Linked DNA regions of Homo sapiens: region 1 is linked to region 2. The links are contacts of gene promoters, found by promoter capture Hi-C in blood cells and fetal thymus (Javierre and others, 2016). All regions are on one chromosome and are shown on one strand. The core of a region is centred on a gene start or on the middle of the fragment in contact, and the rest is flanking DNA. Distances in the headings are between cores, read along the strand shown.

The links. Contacts are between HindIII fragments. The CHiCAGO score rates a contact against its expected background, and 5 or more counts as called.
Region 1: the fragment with the promoter of PEAK3 here is called in contact with a fragment that was not itself captured in region 2 in 1 of 17 cell types (total B cells); the score reaches 5.2 in total B cells.

Annotation. Positions count from the first base shown.
Region 1 is chr19:2,278,904-2,286,185 of GRCh38, reverse strand. PEAK3 (PEAK family member 3) reads left to right here and starts at 4,011. Exons shown (of 4, transcript NM_198532.3): 1 at 4,011-4,099; 2 at 5,251-5,336; 3 at 7,073-7,282. The coding sequence starts at 5,255. RefSeq lists an enhancer at 4,156-4,295. The HindIII fragment of the contact is 9,031 bases long and covers 1-7,282 here.
Region 2 is chr19:2,593,665-2,600,845 of GRCh38, reverse strand. The region is part of intron 2 of GNG7 (G protein subunit gamma 7); the gene reads left to right. It also overlaps the pseudogene RN7SL121P. Among named protein-coding and RNA genes, the nearest start is that of MIR7850, 33 kb to the left of the region's middle. The HindIII fragment of the contact is 4,165 bases long and covers 1,994-6,158 here.

The DNA of each region.
Region 1 (7,282 bases), core at 2,762-5,261, 310 kb after region 2:
ACAGCAAAGGCAGGTGAAACTATTGTCCTGTAGGCCTCAGAGTCCCCGTCCAGGAGAGCCGCCTCTTCCCTGTGCAATGCTCTGAGTGCCTGACATGAACCAGGTGCAACCTCCAAGGTTTCCATGAACCCTGACTCATTTATGGGGTGCACTCGGGGGAGGGCAGGGGAGACCCCAGCTGAGAGGCCCTCCCTGCTCAGGCAGCCAAGACCCAGCTAAAGTAACACCCATCTCCTTGGTGGCTGGAAACCTAAGAGGGGACCCCTAAAACCAGGACCAGACCAAGCCATCCTCACGCCCCATGTCTGGGTGGCTTCTGACCAAGCCTGACTTGACTTCCCCTCCCAGACGGAGCTAGGACAGCACTCGGGGTGCCCCAGCCCATGCCGGCACCCTCGTGGATCTCTCACCCCCATCTTCTGGACAGGGACACGCGTTTGGGGTGTCTCTCTCTCTCCCACATCCCCCGACAAGCCGGCATCTTTTCCAGGTGATTCCTGAGCCCTGCGTATGAACTTCCTCCTGTTTTCCTCCACAAGACAGAGGCACAATTCCCACATGTGAGCTTTTGCTTGTGGAGCCAAGGGAAGCTGGAGGCTCAGGTCTCCGGCTTCCATTGCTGTGTGGCCTGGGGCAAGTCACTGCCCCTCTCTGTGCCTCGGTTTGTTTGTCTGTAATTTGGAAGCTAATAGTCCTGCAATAGGCTGGGCATGGTGGCTCACGTCTGTAATCCCAGCACTTTGGGAGGCCGAGGCGGGTGGATCACCTGTGGTCAGGAGTTCGAGACCAGCCTCGCCAACATGGCGAAACCCCATCTTTTCGAAAATACAAAAATTTGCTGGGCGTGGTGGCGGCCACCTGTAATCCCAGCTACTCAGGGGGCTGAGGCAGGAGAATCGCTTGAACCGGGGAGGGGAAGGTTACAGTGAGCCGAGATCGCACCACTGAACTCCAGCCTGGCTACAGAGTGAGACCCTGTCTCAAACAAACAAAACACAGGCATTTTTCTCCAAAAGGCCGATGTCATGTAAAAATCCATCAGCATACGGCATCCCTGCCCTGCCCCGTACTGGGTGATGCTGGGGATCCAGAGAAAATGTGGCCCCAGCTCCCATGGCTCAATAAGGGCTTCTCAAATGAAAGGACAGCTGTAGGATCTGGAGGGGCCTGATCCAGAGGCCACACCACGCTACCAACATTTTTTTTTTTTTTGAAGACAGAGTTTCACCCAGGCTGGAGTGCACGATCTCAGCTCACTGCAACCTCTGCCTCCCGGGTTCAAGCGATTCTCCTGCCTCAGCCTCCCGAGTAACTGGGATTACAGGTGCAGGCTACCATGCCTGGCTAATTTTGTGTTTTTAGTAGAGACGGGGTTTCACCATCTTGGCTAGGATGGTCTCGATCTCCCGACCTCAGGTGATCTGCCTGCCTCAGCCTCCCAAAGTGCTGGGATTACAGGCATGAGCCACTACGCCCAGCCTTTTTTTTTTTTTTTTTAAACGGAGTCTTGCTCTGTCACCCAGGCTGGAGTGCAGTGGTGCAATCTCATCTCACTGCAACCTCCGCCTCCCGGGTTCAAGCGATTCTCCTGCCTCAGCCTCCAGAGTAGCTGGGATCACAGGCACCCACCTCCATGCCCGAATAATTTTTTTTTTTTTTTTGTATTTTTAGTAGAGATGGGGTTTCAGCATGTTGGCCAGGCTGGTCTCAAACTCCTGACCTCAGGTGATCCACCAGCCTCAGCCTCCCAAAGGGCTGGGATTACAGGCATGAGCCACCACACCTGGCCTATCAATATTTTAAATAAAGACAGGATCTGATCTGCACTTGTTTAACCCTGCTTCTCTTTGCCTTACCCTGCTCCTCCACCCGGGTTCCAATAAAACTTTATTGACAAAAACAGAGGCTCGGCCCATAGTTTGCCGGTTAGGTTTTGTGAAACATTCAGTAAAATGATGTTTATCTTGATTACTGAGGTGCATGTTTGTCTGTTTTTGCATTGTTTTATTATTTATTATTGATTTATTTTTGTGATAGGGTCTCACTCTGTTGCCCAGGCTGGAGTTCAGTGTTATGATCATAGCTCCCTGCAGCCTCGACCTCCTGGACTCAAGCAATGCCCCCACCTCAGCCTTCTGAGTAGCTGGGACCACAGGCACACGCCACTGTGCCAGGCTCATGTTTTATTTTTTGTAGAGATGGGGTCTCACTGTGTTGCCCAGGATGGTACCAAACTCCTGGGCTCAAGTGATCCACCCACCTCAGCCTCTCAAAGTGCTGGGATTACAGGCATGTGCCCAGCCTTTGCATCATTTTAAACTCTGTGGCGGGCGCAGTGGCTCACGCCTGTAATCCCAGCATTTTGGGAGGCTGAGGCGGGCAGGTCACCTGAGGTCAGGAGTTCGAGACCAGGCTGGCCAACACGGTGAAACCCCAACTCTACTAAAAATAATAATAATAATACAAAAATTAGCCAGGTGTGGTGGTGCACGCCTGTAGTACCAGCTACTTGGGAGCCTGAGGCAGGAGAATTGCTTGAACCCGGGAGGCGGAGGTTGCAGTCAGCCAAGATTGCGCCACTGCACTGCAGCCTGGACAACAGAGTGAGACTCCATCTCAAAAATAAATAAATAAAATAAAAATTAACCAGGCATGGTGGTGCACACCAGTGGTCCCAGCTACTCAGGAGGCTGAGGTGGGAGAATCACTTGAGCCCAGGAGGCGGAGGCTGCAGTGAGCTATGATCACACCACGGCACTCCAGCCTAGGGGACGGAGCTAGACCCTGCCTCAAAGAAAAAAAAGTGTGGCATGGGACCCACTCAAGGGAAGTTCATAAGAAAAATGTAGTCTCCTTCCCCTCCTGCCCCTTCTCAGGGGATTGGGGGAGGCCAGGGGGACTCAGCAGTGGCTCTGTGGACCTCTGCTCCCAGCCTCGAGCTGCTGCGTGACCCTGGATGGAGCCCCTACTCTTTCTGGGCCCATTTTCCCTAAGGGAAACGGGATCGGGGATCCCACATAAAATACACTCAATCCTTGCAGCAAAAACATCTTTGGGGCCGGGCAGGGTGGCTCACACCTGTGATCCTAGCACTTTGGGAGGCCGAGGAGGGAGGATCGCCCCAGGAGCTCGTTCCAGGCTGCAGTGAGCTGGGATTGCACCACTGCGCTCCAGCCTGGGCAACAGTGTGAGACCCTGTCTCCAAAGAAAAAGACAGTTTTGACAGGCACGCAGTTCAGCTGGAATTTCACCCCGCGTCTGCTTTTCCTTGGGTTTTTTCCATTCTTGATTTTTCCATTTATGGTGATTTTATCTAAAACGTCTTTTCTAAATAAATGCATCGAGGCAGTGAGGAAGGGGGAAGGGGGAAAACGAGCCGATTCCATCTTTTCAAAGAAAAATCCAGCAGGCGTGGCTGTTAGCAGGCGGGATGTGGGAGCCACTCTTCTTTCTTCGCCGGAGCACGGAGAGGGTGGGGATTTGCCCGCAGTCACACAGCGAGGCGCGGCAGAGCCGGGAGGGTCCTCGCCCACGCTCCACATTCGGGGGCCCTGGGATGGGGCAGGGGGCCGCTGGGGGCTCCTCAGATGCTGCCGCAGGAGGGGAGGTGGTTCCCGGGGAAGTGAAACCCACAGACCCCACTTGCACCTTCTCCAGGGACAGCCGCCACCGTGTTCTGTGCGCTCCCCTACGGTGGGCCAGCTCTGCCCCTCTCTCCCCATCTCACAGGGCTCCCCACTGCCCCGCACCCCAGCCTGGCCTCTGAGGCTGTGGGGGGCCTTCCACTGCCCCCACCCGGCTGTCAGCCCTGGGGCTATTGACTTTCAGATCCCACCTCCTGGTCTCTGTCCAGGCTGTTCCCTCCCGGTTACATCCTGTCCTCTGCGGGCGGGCAGGGGAGGCGGCGGCCTCGGCTGCTGGGGAAGTGTTGCAGAAATGTCCCCTCCCCACCCCGGGCTGCGGTCTGACAGTGGGCCGGACGTTTTCCTGTCAGCTGCCGGCGCCAGGTCAGACCCCTCCTGCGAGGCCAGGGGCTGTGGCCATTGGGAGTTTGTCCCCACGGACCCCTCCTCCCCCAGAGGGCACGCCAGTCTTGAAGGTAGGGGGCTCCTGGAGCGGGGAGCTGGACAGAAGCGGCCACTTTTTGAGGTTGGGATCTGGGCGGGGGTGGGTCGAGGCCTGGCTGCCGGCAGCAACCGCACGGCTGAGCCCTCGGGGATGAGGCCTGAGTGTGGATCCCTGGGTCCCTGGACACTGTCTCCCCCGCAACTGACCCCCAAAGGCCTGTCCTCAGGCTGAACACTCTGTCCCCATCCCAAACGTGCAGAGGGGGGTCCTTCCCACTGCCTGGAAAATTGATGGGTGACAGACCTGCCTCATGATTGAGGAAGTGGGCCCAGAGAGGGCAGGAAACCCACTCGGGATCACACAGCAGGGCCCCAGAGAGGGCAGGAAACCCACTCAGAATCACACAGCAGGGGCCCAGAGAGAGTAGGAAACCCACTCGGGATCACACAGCAGGGCCCCAGAGAGGGCAGGAAACCCACTCGGGATCACACAGCAGGGCCCCAGAGAGGGCAGGAAACCCACTCGGGATCACACATCAGGGGCCCAGAGAGGGCAGCAAACCCACTCAGGATCACACAGCAGGGCCCCAGAGAGGGCAGCAAACCCACTCAGAATCACACAGCAGGGGCCCAGAGAGAGTAGGAAACCCACTCGGGATCACACAGCAGGGCCCCAGAGAGGGCAGGAAACCCACTCAGAATCACACAGCAGGGGCCCAGAGAGAGTAGGAAACCCACTCGGGATCACACAGCAGGGCCCCAGAGAGGGCAGGAAACCCACTCGGGATCACACATCAGGGGCCCAGAGAGGGCAGCAAACCCACTCAGGATCACACAGCAGGGCCCCAGAGAGGGCAGCAAACCCACTCAGAATCACACAGCAGGGGCCCAGAGAGAGTAGGAAACCCACTCGGGATCACACAGCAGGGGCCCAGAGAGGACAGGAAACCCACTCGGGATCACACAGCAGGGGCCCAGAGAGGACAGGAAACCCACTCGGGATCACACAGCAGGGTCAAAACTGGACAAGGGAGTGGAGTGTGGGTGCGCCTGTTCTCACCAAGGGCCCTGGAGCAGGAGGCCTCGACGGTCTCCCAGGCCCCAGCACTCACGGACCCCTCCCCATGTCGCCCTGTGCGTGCACACGGTCACCCCACACACGCCCCGTTTGACCTTTCCCCAGCAACATGAGCAGCCCGGAGCCCCCCACAGAGCCCCCCGAGCCCGACAACCCCACCTGGTCGACTCAGCCCACGTATAGCAACCTTGGTAAGCAGCTCCCCAGGGAGCCCTGGGCTGCGGGGGTGCAGGGAGCGGCAGGGGGGTGCAGGGAGCGGCAGGTGGGTGCAGGGAGCGGCAGGAGGTTGCCGGGCACCATGGCCTCTGGGAACAGCAGCAGCTGGTAAAATGAGTGACCTCCGGGAAGGCCCGGAGTAGGCCAGGGCTGAAAAATAACCTGTGGGTTGGTGGGCGGGGCGTGGTGGCTCACGCCTGTAATCCCAGCACCTTGGGAGGCTGAGGCAGGTGGATCCCTTGAGGCCAGGAGTTCAAGACCGGCCTGGGCAATATAATGAGACCCGCCCCCCATCTCTACAAAACAAAAAAAATGAGATGGACATGGTGTCAAGAGCCTGCAGTCCCAGCTGCTCGGGAAGCTGAGGTGGGAGGATCCCTTGAGCCCAGGAGGTCAAGGCTGCAGTGAGCCATGAAATAGAAAAAAATATATACCATTAAAAAGAGAGAGAGGCTGGGCACGGTAACTCATGCCTGTAATCCCACCCTTTAATCCCAGCACTTTGGGAGGCCAAGGAGGAGGATCACTTGAGGCCAGGAGTTCAAGACCAGCCTGGCCAACATGGCAAAACCTGTCTCTGCTAAAAATACAAAAATTAGCCAGACATGGTGGTGCATGCCTGTAATTCCAGCTACTCGGGAGGCTGAGGCAGGAGAATCGCTTGAACCTGTGAGGCAGAGGGTGCAGTGAGCCAAGACTGAGCCACCGCACTCCAGCCTGGGCGACAGAGGGAGACTCCATCTCAAAAAAAAAAAAAAAAAAAAAAAAAAAGGCCAGGTGCAATGGTTCAAGCCTGTAATCCCAGCACTTTGGGAGGCCGAGTCAGGCAGATCACCTGAGGTCAGGAGTTTGAAACCAGCCTGGCTAACATGGTGAAACCCCATCTCTACTAAAAATACAAAAATTAGCTGGGCATAGTGGCGGGCGGGCACCTGTAGTCCCAGCTACTTGGGAGGCTGAGGTAGGAGAATCGCTTGAACCTAGGAGGCGGAGGTTGCAGTGAGCCGAGATCGTGCCACTGCACTCCAGGCTGGGCGACAGAGCAAGACTTCAAAAAAGAAAAAAAGCAAGACAGACGCTTGTGCAAAGCCACGGAGGTAAGTGGGAGTCGCTGAGTGCTGGGTGGCATCACTCTCTGAAACTGATCCATCCTCCTATAAGCCTCAGTTTCCCCTTCTGTAAGCTCTGCCGCCCAGGCTGGAGTGCAGTGGCACAATCTCGGTTCACTGCAAGCTCCACTTCTCAAGTTCACACAATTTTCCTGCCTCAGCCTCCCGAGTAGCTGGGACCACAGGCGCCCACCACCAAGCCCGGCTAATTTTTTGTATTTTTAGTAAAGACGGGGTTTCACCGTGTTAGCCAGGATGGTCTCGATCTCCTGACCTCGTGATCCACCCATCTCGGCCTCCCAAAGTGCTGGAATTACAGGCATGAGCCATTGTGCATGGCCGCGTCCGGCAAATTTTTAAAAAATTTTTGCAGAGACAGGGTCTCACTATGTTGCCCAGGCTGGTCTCAAACCCTAGGTTCCAGTGATCCTCCTGCCTCGGCTTCCACCTTCCTAAGTGCTGGGATTACAAGCATGAGCCACCGGCGCCCAGCCTCATTACTTCCATGTTAGAGATGGGGAAACCGAGGCTGAGAGGTGGAGTCACGTGTCCCGTTCCCACTCCGCCTGTCCTCAACCCTCCCCCACTGTCTCTCCCTGCAGGTCAGATCCGTGCCCACCTGCTGCCCTCCAAGGCCTGCCGCCTCCGGACCCCTGGGTCCCTCTCCACCAACCCAGAGCCCCTGCCCCCACCCCTGCCCAAGAAGATCCTAACCCGGACCCAGTCACTGCCCACCCGCAGGACCCTCCATCCCAGCTCCATCCAAGTACAGCCGCCTCGGAGACCCTTTCTGGGGTCCCACAGTGTGGACA
Region 2 (7,181 bases), core at 2,827-5,326:
GGGACACCCAGGGGTTGGTCTCTGAGACCCTTTTGGTGGGGGACCACTAGGTCAAAACTGCTAAGATAGAAGCCAGGCACTGTGGCTCACACCTGTAATCCCAGCGCTTTGAGAGGTCAAGGTGGGTGGATCACCTGAGCTCAGGAGTTCGAGACCAGCCTGGCCAACATGGTGAAACCCTGTCTCTACTAAAAATTAAAAAAAAAAATTAGCCAGGTGTGGTGGTGGCGCCTGTAATCCCAGCTACTTGGGAGGCTGAGGCAGGAGAATCACTTGAACCCAGGAGGCGGAGGTTGAAGTGAGCTGAGATTGCGCCACTGCACTCCAGCCTGGGTGACAGAGCGAGACTCCATCTCACAAAAAAAAAAAAAAAAAAATGCCAAGATACTCTGGGTCTCCTTCCTCCCAGTCTCTCCCACACAGATGGTGGAGTTTTCAGAGGTTGCATGACGTTTGATATCACAGTGGATTGAACTCAGAGGCTTATACAAGAATCCAGCTGTCTTCTATTAAGCCAGACATGAAAGAAATTTGCAAAAATGTAAAACAATGCCACTATTTCCCCTCAATGTTTTTTTTTTTTGAAAAATAGTTACTTTTCACTTAAACGTGTCATCCTCCTAATATAAAATATATGGTTTAAAAAAATATTTAATGGGATTATGTTAACTTGTAACAGGAGTATAGCTAAAATCTACATAAACACAAGCTGTTTAAGGGCCTTAATTTTTTATTACCATATTTATGTATATATTTTGGCATCATATTTATATATATTTATTTTATATGACAGCTTTATTGAGATTTTTACATGCCATAGAATTCACTTTTTAAAGTGTACAATTCAGTGGTTTTTAGAATATCCAGAGTTGTGTAACCATTACCACAATCTAATTTTTTTTTTTTTTTGAGATGGAGTCTTGCTCTGTTGCCCAGGCTGGAGTGCGGTGGCGCCATCTCAGCTCTCTGCAACCTCCACCTCCAGGGCTCAAGCGATTCTCCTGCCTCAGCCTCCTGAGTAGCTGGGATCACAGGCCAGCACCACCACCCCCGGCTAATTTTTGTATTTTTAGTAGAGACGGGGTTTCGCCGTATTGCCCAGGCTGGTCTCGAACTCCTGACCGCAGGTGATCCGCCTGCCTCGGTCTCCCAAAGTGCTGGGATTACAGGCGTGAGCCACCGCGCCCGGCCTAACCCCCGGTTTTCATGCACCGTCTTTGATGTTGCCTTTAGGCCGTGCCTGAACGCCGGTGTCACAAACCAAAGCCACAATAACTCAACAGCTTCATGAAATACCCAAACTCCCCCAGCTCCTGTGACATCAGGCAGGCGGAGTGACGCGGCTGCATGGCAGGGCTGCCCGAGGGCCCCCCTCCCAGGTCCGCACCTCCACCTCCTGGAAACCCACCCGGGTGGGCGGTGCTTTCTCCCGCCGAAGTCCTAGAAATGCTCTTCCCCACCAGCTGGGTTTATTTGGATTCATCCAGCCTCGGCTGGGAGGAGGAAGGGGTGGGCCCTCCTAGTATTTATTCTGCTGGAATGGAAACCTCAGATCTTCGAGATACTCAAGCAGACAGACAGACATCTACCAAGTCAGCGAGGGGAAAGTGCGGTGTTTTCGGAGGTCAGCCCGGGACAGCAAAGCAGGCAGGCTGGGGCTCTGATCAGTTCAAAAAGCACCACGTGGTGTCTGCGGCGGAGCAACCAGCGGCACGCCCCCACCCCAGGCGTCCCTCCCACAAGCAAATAGCACAGCCCGGTGACATTGGCTTTTTCCAGCCGAGCGCGGGGCACCCGCTTCGCCTCGTGCCCGCCTCTCCCCCTCTTCATCATGGGCCCTCGGTGGAACTGTATGCTAGAAACTTCACTTTCCAATTTTGGAGATGCTTCTAGAAACTAGACTTCTTTCCAGCTTGAGGTGAGCTGGAAGTTAGATCAGTTTCCATTTCTTTCAACTGAAAACGTGATTACAGAAGTCAGTGTTTCATAAGCTTTCTTTTTCCGTGATCACCTTCTTTTGAGACATCCTTTTCCTAGTGGCTCCTTAGAAAGAATAACGGTGGCAAGAGATTTAAATGCACCCGATGTCTGATTCTTTTGACGGAAGATGCCCAAGTAGCATTATTATTATTATTATTATTATTATTATTATTATTATTATTATTATTTTATTACTTTTCATTTTTTTTGAGACGGAGTCTCGCTCTGTCGCTCAGGCTGGAGTGCAGTGGCGCGATCTCAGCTCACTGCAAGCTCTGCCTCCTGGGTTCACACCATTCTCCTGCCTCAGCCTCCCGAGTAGCTGGGACTACAGGCGCCCGCCACCACACCCAGCTAATTTTTTGTATTTTTAGTAGAGATGGGGTTTCACCGTGTTAGCCAGGATGGTCTCGATCTCCTGACCTCGTGATCCGCCCGCCTCGGCCTCCCAAAGTGCTGGGAGTACAGGCGTGAGCCACCACGCCCGGCCAATTCTGTATTTTCAGTAGAGATGTGGTTTCACCATGTTGGCCAGGCTGGTCTCGAACTCCTGACCTCAGGTGATCCGCCCACCTTGGCCTCCCAAAGTGCTGGGATTAACAGATATGAGCCACCGCGCCCGGCCGCCCACTAGTTTTGATTGTGAGTTCTTTTGGTCCTTGGTTTTCGTAAGCGTTGCTTCCTCCTCTGTAGTAGAGTAACAAGCATGCAGCGTAGAGTCGCCGTGAGAGCTGGATTCGGTCGTTGATGGACAGAGCCGAGTGGAGAGCCTGAGATGACTCAGTGCCACACAGGTGCTGCTCACACAGTTGTCCTGGTCATTGTCGTCTAACCACTGAAACTCCCTAGACTTTTCCTACACATGCACACTCACATAGATACGTACAGCAATATGGAGCGCATTGTACATTGGCAGTCCTGAGCTGCTTTTTACCTTTCTAAATTTAATTTCTTTTTTTTTTTTTTTTTTGAAACAGAGTCTCACTCTGTTGCCCAGGCTGGAGTGCAGTGGCGCAATCTCGGCTCACTGCAAGCTCTGCCTCCTGGGTTCACGCCATTCTCCTGCCTCAGCCTCCCGAGTAGCTGGCACTACAGGCGCCCGCCACCACGCCTGGCTAATTTTTTGTATTTTTAGTAGAGACGGGGTTTCACCGTGTTAGCCAGGATGGTCTCGATCTGCTGACCTCGTGATCCACCCACCTCGGCCTCCCAAAGTGCTGGGATTACAGGTGTGAGCCACCACACTCGGCCTTATTATTATTATTTTTGAGAAGGAGTTTTGCTCTTGTCACCCAGGCTGGAGTGCAGTGGCGTGATCTCGGCTCACTGCAACCTCCACCTCCTGGGTTCAAGCGATTCTCCTGCCTCAGCCTCCTGAGTAGCTAAGATTACAGGTGCCCGCCACCACGCCCAGCTAATTTTTGTATTTTTAGTAGACACGGGGTTTCACCATGTTGGCCAGGCTGGTCTCAAACTCCTGACCTTAGGTGATCCGCCTGCCTCGGCCTCCCACAGTGTTAGGATTACAGGCGTGAGCCACTGTGACTGGCCCCAAGTAGCATTATTATATAATGGAGTTTTTGTTTGTTTTTATCTTAGAGACAGGATCTTCTTTCTCTGTCACTCAAGCTGGAGTGCAGTAACGCCATCTCAGCTCCCTGCAGCAGCTTCCAACTCCCAGGCTCAAGCAATCCTCCCGCCTCAGTCACCAAAGCTGGGATAACAGGTGCACACCACCATGCCTGGATAATTTTTAAATTTTTATTCTTTCTAGAGATTGGGTCTTGCTATGTTGTCCAGGATGATCTTGAACTCCTGGCCTCAAGTGATCTTCCCACCTCAGCCTCCAAAAGTGCTGGGATTGCAGGTGTGAGCCACCGAGCCCAGCCTATACCTGTGAAATTTCAATATCATAGATAGACTGTGTATCTGTTTATGTTCTGTTTTCTGGGCTTAATCCATAAAAAAAGTAAAATTTGTTTTCATCTCCCCAAGAATTGATGTTCACCCTGTTGAGAATATATTTGTAAAGAAGTCTCGTACTGCAGGAGTGAGAATGGAGACATCTTCATCACAAATCTCACTCCCCAGAATTAACCACTGTTAACAGTGTGGGGTGGATGGGAACTGATCATCAGTGCAGAACGTGAAAGGAGAACAACTGGGTCGATATTTGCCCACTTTTTTTTTTGGGGGGGGGACAGGGTCTCACTTTGTCACCCAGGCTGGAGTGCAGTGGCATAATCATGGCTCACTACAGCCTCAACCTCTTGGACTCAAGCGATCCTCCCACCTCAACCTCCTGAGTAGCTGGGACCACAGGTGGATATCACTACACCTGCTTAATTTTTTTTTAATTTTAATTGAGACGGGGTCTCACTATGTTACCCAGGCTGGTCTGAAACTCCTGGGCTCAAGTGATTTTCCTGCCTCAGCCTTTCAAAGTGCTGGGATTGCAGGTGTGAGCCCCGCGCTGGGCCTGCCTACTATTTTTTATTTTAATTTTAGGGACCGACTCTCACTCTGTCGCCCAGGCTGCAGTGCAGAGGCACGATCTCAGCTCACTGCAACCTCCACCTCCTGGGTTCAAGCGATTCTCCTGTCTCAGCCTCCCAAGTAGCTGGGATTACAGGCATGCACCACCGCACCCGGCTAATTTTTGTATTTTCAGTAGAGATGGGGTTTCACCATGTTGGCCATGCTGGTCCCAAACTCCTGACCTCAGGTGATCCGCCCGCCTCGGCCTCTCAAAGTGCTGAGATTACAGATATGAGCCACCGCGCCCGGCCGCCCACTAGTTTTGATTGTGAGTTCTTCTGGTCCTTGGTTTTCGTAAGCGTTGCTTCCTCCTCTGTAGTAGAGTAACAAGCATGCAGCGTAGAGTCGCCGTGAGAGCTGGATTCGGTCGTTGATGGACAGAGCCGAGTGGAGAGCCTGAGATGACTCAGTGCCACACAGGTGCTGCTCACACAGTTGTCCTGGTCATTGTCGTCTAACCACTGAAACTCCCTAGACTTTTCCTACACATGCACACTCACATAGATACGTACAGCCATATGGAGTGCATTGTACATTGGCGGTCCTGAGCTGCTTTTTACCTTTTTAAATTTAATTTCTTTTTTTTTTTTTTTGAGACAGAGTCTCACTCTGTTGCCCAGGCTGGAGTGCAGTGGTGCGATCTTGGCTCGCTGCAAGCTCCGCCTCCCGGGTTCACGCCATTCTCCTGCCTCAGCCTCCCGAGTAGCTGGGATTACAGGCACCCGCCACCACGCCCGGCTAATTTTTTGTATTTTTACTAGAGACGGAGTTTTGCTATGTTGCCCAGGCTGGTCTCAAACTCCTGAGCTCAGGCAATCCACCCGCCTCGGCCTCCCAAAGTGCTGGGATTACAGGCATGAGCCACTGCACTCGGCCCTTAAATTTAATTTCCTTTCAGCCGGGCATGGTGGCTCACACCTATAATCCCAGCACTTTGGGAGGCTGAGGTGTGTGGATCAATCAACTGAGGTCAGGAGTTCAAGACCGGCCTGACCAACATGGCAAAACCCCGTCTCTACTAAAAATACAAAAATTAGCCGGACGTGGTGGCGGGCGCCTGTAATGCCAGCTACTTGGGAGGCTGAGGCAGGAGAATCGCTTGAACCCGGGAGGTGGAGGTTGCAGTGAGCCAAGATCACGCCACTGCACTCCAGCCTGGGCAACAGAGTGAGACTCCGTCTCAAAAAAAAAAAAATTTAATTTCTTTTGAGACAGGGTCTCGCTCTGTTGCCCAGGCTGGAGTGCAGTGGTGCCATCATGGTTCACTGCAACCTTGACCACCTGGGCTCAAGCGATCCTCCCACCTCATCCTTTCAAATAGCTGGGACTACAGGTACGTGCCACCATGCCCAGCTAATTTTTTTGTATTTTTTGTAGAGATGAGGTCTTGGTATGTTGCCCAGGCTGGTCTCAAACTCCTGTCCTGAAGCAATCAGCTCGCCTCAGCCTCCCAAAGGGCTGGGATTACAGACGTGAGCCACCACGCCGGGCCATTAAAGACATTTTTGAGATAATCATGGACAATGGGTCACAGGCTGGTTATTGGTAACAGGAAATTATTGTTGATAATCATGGAGCAAGTTGATAATAAGACAGTGTTAATTTGATTGGGTGGTTCTGTGTTGGGAAATCAGAAAGCTTCAGTGATTAGAGAACATTCTGAAGGTTCTACAGGCAAAGTCATATGATGTCTTGAATTTGTGTGAAATACCCGTGCAAAGCTGGAGAGAGAAGTGAGAACAGAAGAAGGGCAGAATGTTAATTCCCGTTGCAGGAGGTGACGACACTCAGAGAGACCTCGTCCTGGCCTGCGTGCTTCAGGCTGTGTTTGAAATTTTCCACTATATGTAATTTTTTAAATTTGCAGTTTCTTTCTTCCTCCTTCCTTCCTTCCTTCCTTCCTTCCTTCCTTCCTTCCTTCCCTCCTTCTTTCTTTCCTTCTTTCTTTCTTTCTTGAGGGAGTCTCACTCTGTCGCCTAGGCTGGAGTGCAGTGGTGTGATATCTCGGCTCACTGCAACCTCTACCTCCCAGGTTCAAGCGATTCTCCTGCCTCAGCCTCCCAAGTAGCTGGGACTACAGGTGCCCACCACCACACCCAGCTAAGTGTTTTGTATTTTTAGTAGAGATGGGGTTTCTCCATGTTGGCCAGGCTGGTCTCGAACTCCTGAGCTCAGGTGATCCGCCCGTCTTGGCCTCCCAAAGCGCTGGGATTACAGGCGTGAGCCACTGTGCCCGGCCTTGATTTGCAGTTTCTGTAAACAACTTGTATAATAGAAAAGCAGAGAAATAAATTTTCCTCCCCTTCAGAAGCACCTCATGTTTGTTTTAAAGTATAGTATTTAATCCAGATTTGAGAAGGTTTGGGGTGAATGAGGTAAGAAAGTTTTTTTTTTTTTTTGGCATCAAATATTTCGGCCTGCCTCTCAGCTTGCTTCAGAAAACTTAAAACATCACAATAGTAATCAAAACATATATAACATTGAAACAGAAGGAAATGGCATGGACCACAGAACTCCAAGGATTGTTTAAAAAAAAAAAAAAAGTGCTACCCCGGGAAAAGTATTTGCAATTTTTTTTTTTTTTTAGATGGAGTCTCACTCTGTTGCCCAGGCAGGAGTGCAGTGGCACAATCTCGGCTCACTGCAAGCTCCGTGTCCCAGGT